3 separate regions of the Homo sapiens genome follow, and regions 1 and 2 are each linked to region 3. Evidence: promoter capture Hi-C in 16 types of primary human blood cells and fetal thymus (Javierre and others, 2016). All regions are on one chromosome and are shown on one strand. Each heading gives the region's core, a stretch centred on a gene start or on the middle of the fragment in contact. The rest is flanking DNA. Distances are from core to core; before and after follow the strand shown.

What was found. Contacts are between HindIII fragments. The CHiCAGO score rates a contact against its expected background, and 5 or more counts as called.
Region 1: a fragment that was not itself captured here is called in contact with the fragment with the promoter of PHKA2 in region 3 in 1 of 17 cell types (total B cells); the score reaches 6.1 in total B cells.
Region 2: the fragment with the promoter of EIF1AX-AS1 here is called in contact with the fragment with the promoter of PHKA2 in region 3 in 1 of 17 cell types (neutrophils); the score reaches 10.5 in neutrophils.

The regions. Positions count from the first base shown.
Region 1 is chrX:17,749,549-17,752,730 of GRCh38, reverse strand. It overlaps SCML1 (Scm polycomb group protein like 1), which reads right to left. Exons shown (of 8, transcript NM_001037540.3): 6 at 2,438-2,837; 7 at 765-916. Among named protein-coding and RNA genes, the nearest start is that of SCML1, 14 kb to the right of the region's middle. RefSeq lists an enhancer at 1,747-2,946. The HindIII fragment of the contact is 2,156 bases long and covers 639-2,794 here.
Region 2 is chrX:20,137,864-20,141,325 of GRCh38, reverse strand. EIF1AX-AS1 (EIF1AX antisense RNA 1) reads right to left here and starts at 1,358. Exons shown (of 2, transcript NR_046592.2): 1 at 1,091-1,358; 2 at 882-991. EIF1AX (eukaryotic translation initiation factor 1A X-linked) reads left to right here. Exons shown (of 7, transcript NM_001412.4): 2 at 2,704-2,787. RefSeq lists an enhancer at 87-246. The HindIII fragment of the contact is 4,524 bases long and covers 1-1,782 here.
Region 3 is chrX:18,982,460-18,985,796 of GRCh38, reverse strand. PHKA2 (phosphorylase kinase regulatory subunit alpha 2) reads left to right here and starts at 1,683. Exons shown (of 33, transcript NM_000292.3): 1 at 1,683-1,942. The coding sequence starts at 1,865. RefSeq lists enhancers at 849-898, 880-1,380, 1,381-1,881 and a silencer at 999-1,688. The HindIII fragment of the contact is 8,902 bases long and covers 1-3,337 here.

The DNA of each region.
Region 1 (3,182 bases), core at 467-2,966, 1.2 Mb after region 3:
TACTAATTTTGTTAGGACACACTGTGAAAATATCTGAATAAATAAAACATAGTCACAAAGCATTCTCCTAAAATTCCTTATCTTAATTGATCAACTTATGCTGCTGAAGCATATGATTTGGTTTTATATGTTCCAGTTAAAAAATAAAATTTTATTTACTCATTTAACACTATCTGAAAAGGTCTGAAATCCCTTATAGTACAACCTTTGTTTGGCACCTTCTATACTTTTTCTACTAAGTAAAACTCAAAATTAAAGAAACTAGAACTTACAAAACTTCGGCCTAGGATATTACTTTGTAAATGGTCTGATAATAGCAAGAGGGTATTAGCATTACAAATCATCAATAATCGAGGCAAATGGAATCAGTTGTTGAATCACTGGTTATATAAAACGAAGGCCACCCTGTTATAGCTTGTGGTTACCCCCTCCTCCTCGTGGTCCTGGTGCCCAGCTGGGAGCAGATAGGGGGAGGATCTTTGTATCTGTCATTACAAAGGGGAGGTACACCTGAGTGGCCATGCTGAATCATCATGTCTTAAGAAGCTGAGGCAGTTTGTATTTTAGGCACTTCTACACCCATTTAAAGAACAGACCATTAGCCTACCATTTAAGGCTAACCTTGGGCAAAATAAGCTTTCTCATATATGGAAAAATCAGCTAATAGGGTTCTCCCACCATTCACACAGTATCCAACTGAAAGACCTGCACAGAGGTCATTCAAAGGCATTACAGCAGGAAAACAGGATCAAAAGATACATTACATGGCTTCTGAAGAGGTCGACAAGAGGGCATAATGCAAGAGGATCTGTTTGTTTTAGAAATAGGACCACTGCTTCCACCGACCAGGTTGAAGGGTGCTTAGTGATGCTTCCTTCCTCTATGTAACCGTCATTTTCAACTGGTGACCTTGTAACTTCAATGGAGAGGGGGAAAAGAAAAAAAAGACAAATCACACTCGACCTGATCATTATCCTGAAAGAAGAGATGTTAGGTAAGGAGGAATGCTCTCTTTGTTGGAACCTTCTGTGATGTTCCTAGCAAGGAGTCAAGACTCCAACTGTAAAATCTAGTGAAAGCCTATATAAAGATGATGTGGGGATGCCTACACAAGAGTGTCCCATCTGACCTCCCCTAAATAGCAAAAGCTGGTTCAGAAGTTACATTAAAGTTTCAAAGATCACAAAACAGACTAAGTAAACCAAGTCTTCTTTGGCCACAGGCAAATATGGCAAAAGATCTGTCACTTGGGTAAAATTAGGTTAATCTAACCTAACCTATGACTCTCTTCAAGTATTTCAAGGAATTTCTCTCTTAATCTATCTAGATTAGGTTAATTTTACTAGCAAAATATAATGGAAATTCTCCAAATTTACAGTTTTATAATTGCTTAAATTTGTTCCTTTTAATCAATGAATCTCAATAACAACCCCATTATCTTTAAGAACCAAATTAGTACTTTTATCAAATCTTCCCCACGTATTCAATAAGGTTATTTTTAGTATCGCTTTACTTTTTAGATTCCTGTCTCTCGTGGCTTAAGTGCTAATGTGCATTGTGAAGAAAACAAGATTATTTTCTGCTGAACTAGGTCAGAAGTAACTAACATTTTATTTAATTCCTCTTTCATGTTTAATTGCATAGTAATAGAGATTTTGGTCAAAGGTTTATATGTTTAAAAAATAACTGAGATATGAGACAGTTTAACTGCTCATACTTCAGAAAGTTTTAGCTATGCTCTACACTAAGTTGTGTTGAAATTTCTTTGTGTACTGACAAGTATCCTTTTACTCACCCACAGTGTTAGACTCCCTAAAATTAGTGTGTGATGACTAAAGTGGGTTTTGTAATTAGTTAGGAAAATTTGTTTCTCCAACCAGGACCATCAACACAATTTGATCTTTTTGTGTGTGTGAATTAGCCAAAAACATACCCTTTCTTCCCTACCATCTGGGCTCTTGCCATATCAGGAGTGTTTTTTATTTATCTAGGGAAAGGGTAAATAAAAATAGAAGATTTGGAAAAGCACAATGGGGCAGAGTTCTAGAAGTGCTACTCACCAGCTCTGTGATCGTGGGGATGGCGTAATAAATGTGCCAAAACCATGGGGTCATTATGAGTATAAGTGGAGAAGAGGCATGTCAGCTGATTGGTGCAGTGCCTTGCACATAATATGCATTGAATAAATGTTAGTCATCATTCTGAATATCACCTAAAACCAGCCCTCAAAATAGGAAACGAACAGCTTCCACTAGTTTGCATCAAGGATGTTGATAAATATAGGTCAAATAGTGCTACTTGTAAATATGGCATTTCAAACTCACCAAACCAGAAGGGAAGCAGAGAGATGATCCAGTATACCTATTCTCCATCAAAGCTGAGTAACTCATCATCTCAGGGGCATGTACCAAATTGGGCTCTCCCTGGGCCAGCATACCTGAAGGTGGTGCTGCAGAAGCATGGTCAGTTGAGTAAGTGTTGTGGATGCTGTCAGCCCGAGGGTTGCCAAGGCAGAGCCCTGAAGAAGAACCATACGTTGCACCATCAGATGCATAATACGGCTGACAATTATGCTCAGAGAAATCTGAGGGATGCACTGGACTCGGAGTGCGGCTGAGGATCGGGTCCTCCTCCAGCTCAGCTCGCTGGTATTCTTCCATGCAAAAGGATGGCCTTGGAAGGTTGCTCGGGGAATTATTCTCACGCCTTGACACTGGTAAAGTGGGGCTGTAACTTTCAGGGTAGGAGAATGTCTCGTAAACCTCATTTTTCTTCATTTTCTGGAGTTTAAGCTTTTTAACAAGCCGGTAAGAATGCTTTTTATATCCATATCGCTTCTGAAATCACACAAACACAGCATAAACCAACAGTGAGTAAAAAAGTAAATAAAATTAGTAGCAAATACATTAATACTTATTTTCCATGCAACATTGCTTTACATTATTAAAAATAAATGGTCCCTTTTGATTATATAATTCTTCAATCCTACATTTTAATTGTATTTTACACATTATAATTACAAACATAAAAATAGGCAGCATCATAAATTATCAAACCTAAACTTCAGCGTTCTCCCAACAGAGTTTAGTCTCCATCTACTGTTACAAGTATAGACATGCCTTGCTAATCTCACACAGATACTGGTACTCTCTCACTTCTAGCTCATTGGCATCTTTACAAAC
Region 2 (3,462 bases), core at 109-2,608, 1.2 Mb before region 3:
GGCGGGAACCTTCCCCGGGGCGGCCTAGGTTTAGTAGATAGGCCCCTTTGGCCTTCCCGGGCATGAGGGGTTATAATCCCTGGAAGCCGTTCTGAACTTTCAGAGTGCTGTCTGCATTCGTGAGCACCAGGTACTCCTGCATGGGTTTCTTTATGGACAGTTCAGTATTGTTGAGGCTACTCGCTGTCCCTTGTGAACAGTGGGTGAAACCTTGATACATTTCTAAGGCTCACCTCTAGAGATTTACTCTCTCCATCCCTTTACAGGATATAGCTTATGTTTGTTTGCTGAAGACTTATTCCATATTGAGCCAAGTTTTCTACTTTTGCTTCAGATGATGCATATGTTGTGAGAATAAAGACCTAATTTAAGTGTCCTCCATTCTGAGGCTAAGCGTTCACAAATGATCAGACTTGAGGATAACTTTATTTGGGATTTCCAAAACGGAAGGCCTAATCTTAAAAAAAAAAAAACAAAAACAAAAAACAGAACACTCCTAAAGAAATTACTTTTATAGATTTACAGTGTTCCTGTCATTTTTAATAGCCGTATAACTTGAAGAAAATTGTGCAAGTAAATATAGGGAAAATACTGTATTTTCCTACAGGAGAGGAGCATACTTCATAGTCCGTAAGTAGTCTCCTTTGATTATTCATTCTAGAGGAAACCCTCCCCTGACACAGGCCTACTTCTGCTCTCTTTTCTACTTGACAGCTGGCTCCAGGGATTCTACCACATTTCCTCTTTGTAGCTGTCACTTATTACTTTATCCCTTAGGGTACTTGGTCGAGGTGTTCTGTGCACAAGTTGGTGCAGTCACTGCTCATTATTTTGGAAAAGATGGAGTTATAAACAAAAAATTTTAAAGTCTTACAGTTTTCTTCTGTATAATCCTTTATTCTCTCTGAGGTGGTAAGGGGATCACTTCCATCTTATTCTCACCTTTATTTCTAGTAATAAGATTTCCAATTCTTCCACCAGGCTGTAAGCTCTACAAGGCAGGAATAGTATCTGTCTTAATCTCATTGGATTGCCAGCACTTGACAATTAGTAGATGCTTAATAAATATTTGTTGGTTTAAGTCACCTACCTCCTGTCGACTCCACCCTTAGTGAATAATAGGTTCTGCTTTGGTTCCAAGGGGATAGGACTTCTACACTAAATCACATCTAGTTCCCTAGCCTCATGTCTTAAGAAAGAGCCTCTCTGGGAATTTCTCCAAAACAACTCTGGTTTAAAGAATGTTGATGTCACTTTAATTGTTGTACACTCAGACCTAGTCTCATTCATTCAACAGAGAATTTAAAGAACATCCCATTACATGGCAATAAAATACAAAGGGGAGTGATCCGGGTATGGTTAATTCTGGTAAATTGACAAGTAATTAGTCTTTTCTTAAATAACATTTGAGGCATACAAAAAATACAGCTAACATGATATACCTGGGAACCCATTACTCTGAATTTAAGAATTACAGCGCAGATTGAGGTAAAGCCCTAATCACCTTTTACTCTCTTTTTGGAGGTAATCACCAGGCTGAGTTTGGTGTTTATCATTCCTGTACTGTCTGAAACCAATCAGTTCTTAGTTATCTTACTTAGAGGAATGGTACTTTTCATGACCTAATTTAAGTGTCCTCCATTTTTTTTTGCTGCTTCCAAGCTCTTCCCATGAGTCTCTTAGGGTCATTACCACTTACAGCCTTTTTCCTGCCTTTTGGAAATGGCTGCCAATGTGGTTTCCTTTCTGGAATGGGAGCAAAATGCTGTGGAGAGGTAAGCTTATGTGGGGGCTAGGGGCAAAAAAAACATTGTGACTTTGGTCACCCCAGCTTACTGACTGTAATCAGTGAACTGATTTACTCACTGAAGCTAAGCGACTTACTTAACTTCTCTGAGCTTCAGGGAACTCATGGGTAAACTGGGAATAAATGAATGTTATGACCTCATGGGGTGATTGTGACAAGTAAATGGGCAGAATTATTGCATAGTGGTTAAGAGCATGGTCACTGGGGTCATATAATAGAAACAGGGATGTTGAGTAGGGACCAGCATTATAAAAGAAAGTAAATTGGGTACCGAACAGATCTTCTTTATTTTTTAAGAGACAGTGTCTCGCTATGTTGCCCAGGCTAGCCTGGAACCTCCTGGGCTTGCTCAAGTGATCCTCCCACCTGAGCCTCCTGAGTAGCTGAGACCCTAGGCGCACACCACTGCACCCAGTGAGATTTCAATATTTATGGTACTCTGCTACCAAAAGTTTGAAAACCACAGTTCTCTGTCCAGACACTGTCTTCACTTAATTTTGAAAGTATCGGGTTCCTTGCATAGGGCCTGGCTTTAGAAGACACCCAAGATTTCCGCTTAGAAGAATATGTATAGAATTGCATTTTTATTTCAAAAGGATGGGTGCTAAAGTGAAATGTTTTTCTATATTTTTTAACATAATATCTGCTATTTATGTGTATTTTATGTCAGAAAAATCCCCAAAGGAAATTCCAAGAAGGGTAGGGAGGTGATAATGTGTTAATGTTGGGATTGGAGATTGTAAATTTAATATGATTGTGTAGCTAAAATAGATGAATTTTTTAATTTAAGTGATCTTTTAAAAAATGGTTTTATAAGCCTTAATTTCATTTTATTTCATACTGTTTTACAGATAATTAATGTCATTTACCTCCTTTTCTTTTTTTTAAACCATCAGGTAAAGGAGGTAAAAACAGACGCAGGGGTAAGAATGAGAATGAATCTGAAAAAAGAGAACTGGTATTCAAAGAGGATGGTCAGGGTAAGTGTTTTCATAAATTACGCTTTTTAAAATAACATCCTTTCTTTTTTAGCTGGGGACTTTATTTTTTTGAGACAGCGTCTTGCCCATCGCCCAGGGTGAAGTGTGGTGGCACGATTACAGCCCACTGCAGCCATGACCTCCTGGGCTGAAGCAGTCCTTCCACTTCAGCCTCCCGAGTATTTGGGACTACAGGCACACACCACCACGTCTGGCTAATTTTAAAAATTTTTTTAGGCTGGGCGCAGTGGCTCACGTCTGTAATCCCAGCACTTTGGGAGGCCAAGGCGGGCGGATCACGAGGTCAGGAGTTCGAGACCAGCCTGACCAACATGATGAAACCCCGTCTCTACTAAAATTACAAAAATTAGCTGGGTGTGGTGGCACGTGCCTGTAATCCCAGCTACTCAGGAGGCTGAGGCAGGAGAATTGTTTGAACCTGGGAGGCGGAGGTTGCAGTGAGCCGAGATCACACCACTGCACTCCAGCCTGGGTGACAGAGGGAGACTCTGTCTCAAAAAAAAAAAAAAAAAAAAAAAAAAAACTGTATAGAGATGAGGTCTTCATATGTTGCCCTGGCTATTCTCGAACTCCTGGGCTCAAGTGATTCTCCCACCATGACCTCCCAAAGTACTGGGAACTAAGAATGTGTCGTATAGTTCAGAGGGAATTGAG
Region 3 (3,337 bases), core at 434-2,933:
TAGGAGATACCAAAAGACTGTTTCAATGAATAACGTACATTCCAATTAGGAAAATATGCCTCATCCACACATGAAAACATAAATAACAACAGGAGGCAATACATTGTGGCCAAGTGACAACGAAATTAGCTATGATTTATTAAGTATTTTTCTACTAGCCAGGCTTGTGCTAAATGCTTTATATTCATCCTCTTGATCTTAAGTCATCCTGTGAGGTAGGTGCTATGATTATCTCCATTTTACAGATGAGAACACTTAAGTTCAAACATGTAAAACGGGATGCCAAAGGTCATACGACTTGTAAATGACAGAACTGACATTTGAACTCAAAATGAACTGACTCTAAGTCCTAAGCTCTTACTAAACCAATGGCTACAGAAATTCAGAAAATGGGGAAGGCTAATAGAGGAGCTGAGCTGGCCGTTAAGGGAAAGATAGGCTTCAGTTAGTCAAGGAGGAGGAAGAAGGGCCGAAGGGGTCAAGCATAGAGTAAATGCATGGAGACTGGAAAAGAGCTTGCGGAAATTGATTGCATTAGTCTAGCTGTCCAGTAAATTCCTATGTGGGCCAGATTTTGGTGGACAATGAATACCAGGCCGAAGATTGTGAACTGTAGGTTATCAGCAGCCACGAAACATTATAATGAATGCCAAGTTTCAAGCTGTAGACCCGTGGGAGATGAACTGCGAACCTGCCCGAGGAAGCGGCGCCCAAGTGGCTAGGGGCGGGGTCACAGGCGCCAGAGGTGTCGCTGGGGCACCTCTCCGGGCCTTCCCCCTTTTTCTTCCGGGCTGGGTCCCGCTACTCCAGTTCCGCTAGGCGGCGGAGACGGGGCCAGAGGTGGGACTACAATCTTGGCCCTCAGAGGGGTGCCCAGGCGGCCGCGGTAGGCGGCCCTCTTTCTCCGGCCTCGAGTGGGACTGGCACCCGTCTCGGGGGGCTCCACACTACCACGCAGGAAAGCCAACTCGTCCGCCGCCCGAAGCCGGGTTCCCCTAGACTCCCACGGGCCGCCTCCTTTTTCGTCCCCCCCGAGGCCGCGACTCTGAGGGTTCCGCTCTGCGGCGGAGGTGGGGCCAGGGGCGGGGATGTGGGCGGGGCCGTGAGGTCGTTCCAGGGCGCGGGGCGGGGCCGCCCCCTTACCTGTGCCCCTCAGGGTTCCAAACGTTCCACTCCGCGGCAGGGGCGGGGGCGAGTCCGGAGGGCGGGTCCAAGGCGCCCAGGTGGCCGCGGCAGAAGGGCCTGTTTCTCTGGCCTTGGCTGTGGTTGGCAGCCGGCCGGGGAGAGAAGGGACTCAGGGAGGCAACCTGGTTCCCGCCCGTTGCTGATTTCGCAGCGGCTCTCCCGGGCCGCCCCCTTTTCCTTCCTCCTCAGGCCGCGACTTGGAGGGTTCCGCTCCGCGGCGGGGGCAGAGCCAGGGGCGGGGCTGAGCGCGGCCTGGGCGATCTCCCCGGCGGCTGGGGTGGGCTGGCGTCTTCTTCGCGCCCGGGGGACCTCCTCGCGACCGCCGGGACGTAAAAGGGGCTTGGCAGGGGCGTCCTCGCCCCACTCCCGGAACCTGGTTTCCCGCTGCTCCCGCGAGCGTCGGGAGCCCAGCAGGCCTGGCCGAGGCGGGACCTTCGTCGCTCCAGCCCCCGTCCCCGCCCCCGCGCCTCCCCGCCGCGCGGAGCTCTGGTTGGCTTGCTTTCCAACCGGACTTTGGGGCTAGCGTTTAGAAAAGTCTCGACCTCCTCCGGCCCGGTCCCATCCCAAGAACCGACTAAGGCTGTGAGTGTCCGGGAACCAGACCCGCTTGGAGGCCACAGCCCCGACGTCCCGCGCCCACGCGGCAGATCGGGCGCTGCGGCCTGGGAGCCTCGGGGAGATGCGGAGCAGGAGCAATTCCGGGGTCCGCTTGGACGGGTACGCGCGGCTGGTGCAGCAAACCATCCTGTGTTACCAGGTAAGGAGGGACCGCCCCCAGGGAACGCGTGGAACTACCCTCTCATGTAACTCATTCTCCTTCCCAGGTCTGGCCCTCTTGTGACCTGAGACCTTGCAATTAAGAGTTTGCTATTTGAATCTAGTCCTTGCTAGCCAGTGATTACCACCCCATTGCCACCCCGTGCTCCTTAAGATTCAGGGGACCTAACTGTTGCTACGGCTACTTTTCACAGAATTCTTTGGCCATTGTTCAGGATGAGAATGAGCCGCCTCCGTGCCCGGGTCCAAACTGCCTCTTTTTGCATTGACTCTGCTTTTTTTGGACGAGAAGAGGTGTGGGGGGTTTGGACAGACTACACTGAATGAGAACAGTAGACAGGAGTGAAGAAGCTCCTGAAGTTTACGCAGGACTCTGCAGTGTGGGGCGACAGCTACCGTCCCTCCCATGAGCTGTCTTGGTAGAGACCCACCTGGGAAGCCCTTAGGGGCTACTTTGGTTGCTATTTTACAGATAAGAAAATTGTGAGGCTAGAAAGGTCACTGCATGTAGCAGGTCAGACCCAAAGGCTCCCAAGCTCACAGGGTCCTATGACACTGCCCATGTGGTCCGAGGTATGAATTTGCCTGCTATGCTTTGTATTCCTGGGCTAAAATTATGTGTGGGTCCATCAGTGTAAGACCACTGAACTATTTTTATTCCTAGTGAAGACAGCAGCTATGTTTCTTGCCCTCAATCAACAGCAACTATTTATAGGGCCTTCAAAGTCAACGAAGGAAGTGGCATTCAGGGGTTAGAGGCCTGACCTGCAAGTTGGGAGCCATGGTCATTTCCAAGGCACTGACCATTTTCCCTTCTTAACTAATTTCTTAGCCTTGTTTCCTCACTTAGGAAATATTTGTGGTGTATCTGTTATATGCAAAGCACTCTACAAAGTGCTGGGGTTACAAGAATAAATGATCGTAGTGCAGTAACATTTATGCATAAGGTATAGGTCCAAAGTCCCTTAATCTGTTTTCTTTGTTGTTGTTTGTTTGTTTTTGAGACAGGGTCTCACTCTGTCTCCTAGGCTGGAGTGCAGTGGCGCGATCTCGGCTCACTGAAACCTCTGCCTCTCGGGTTCAAGCGATTATCCTGCCTCAGCCTCCCGAGTAGCTGGGACTACAGGCGTGCGCCACCACACCCAGCTAATTTTTGCATTTTTAGTAGTGACGGGGTTTCACTGCGTTGGCCAGGCTGGTCTCGACCTCCTGACTTCAAGTCATCCTCTCACCACGGCCTCCCAAAAGTGCTGGGATTACAGGCATGAGCCACTGCACCTGGCCTCAGAGTCCATTATCTGAAACCCTTTGGACCAGTTGTGGTTTGCCCATCAGAAATGTTTGGCTTTTAGAAAGGTAATATGCGTACAACGTA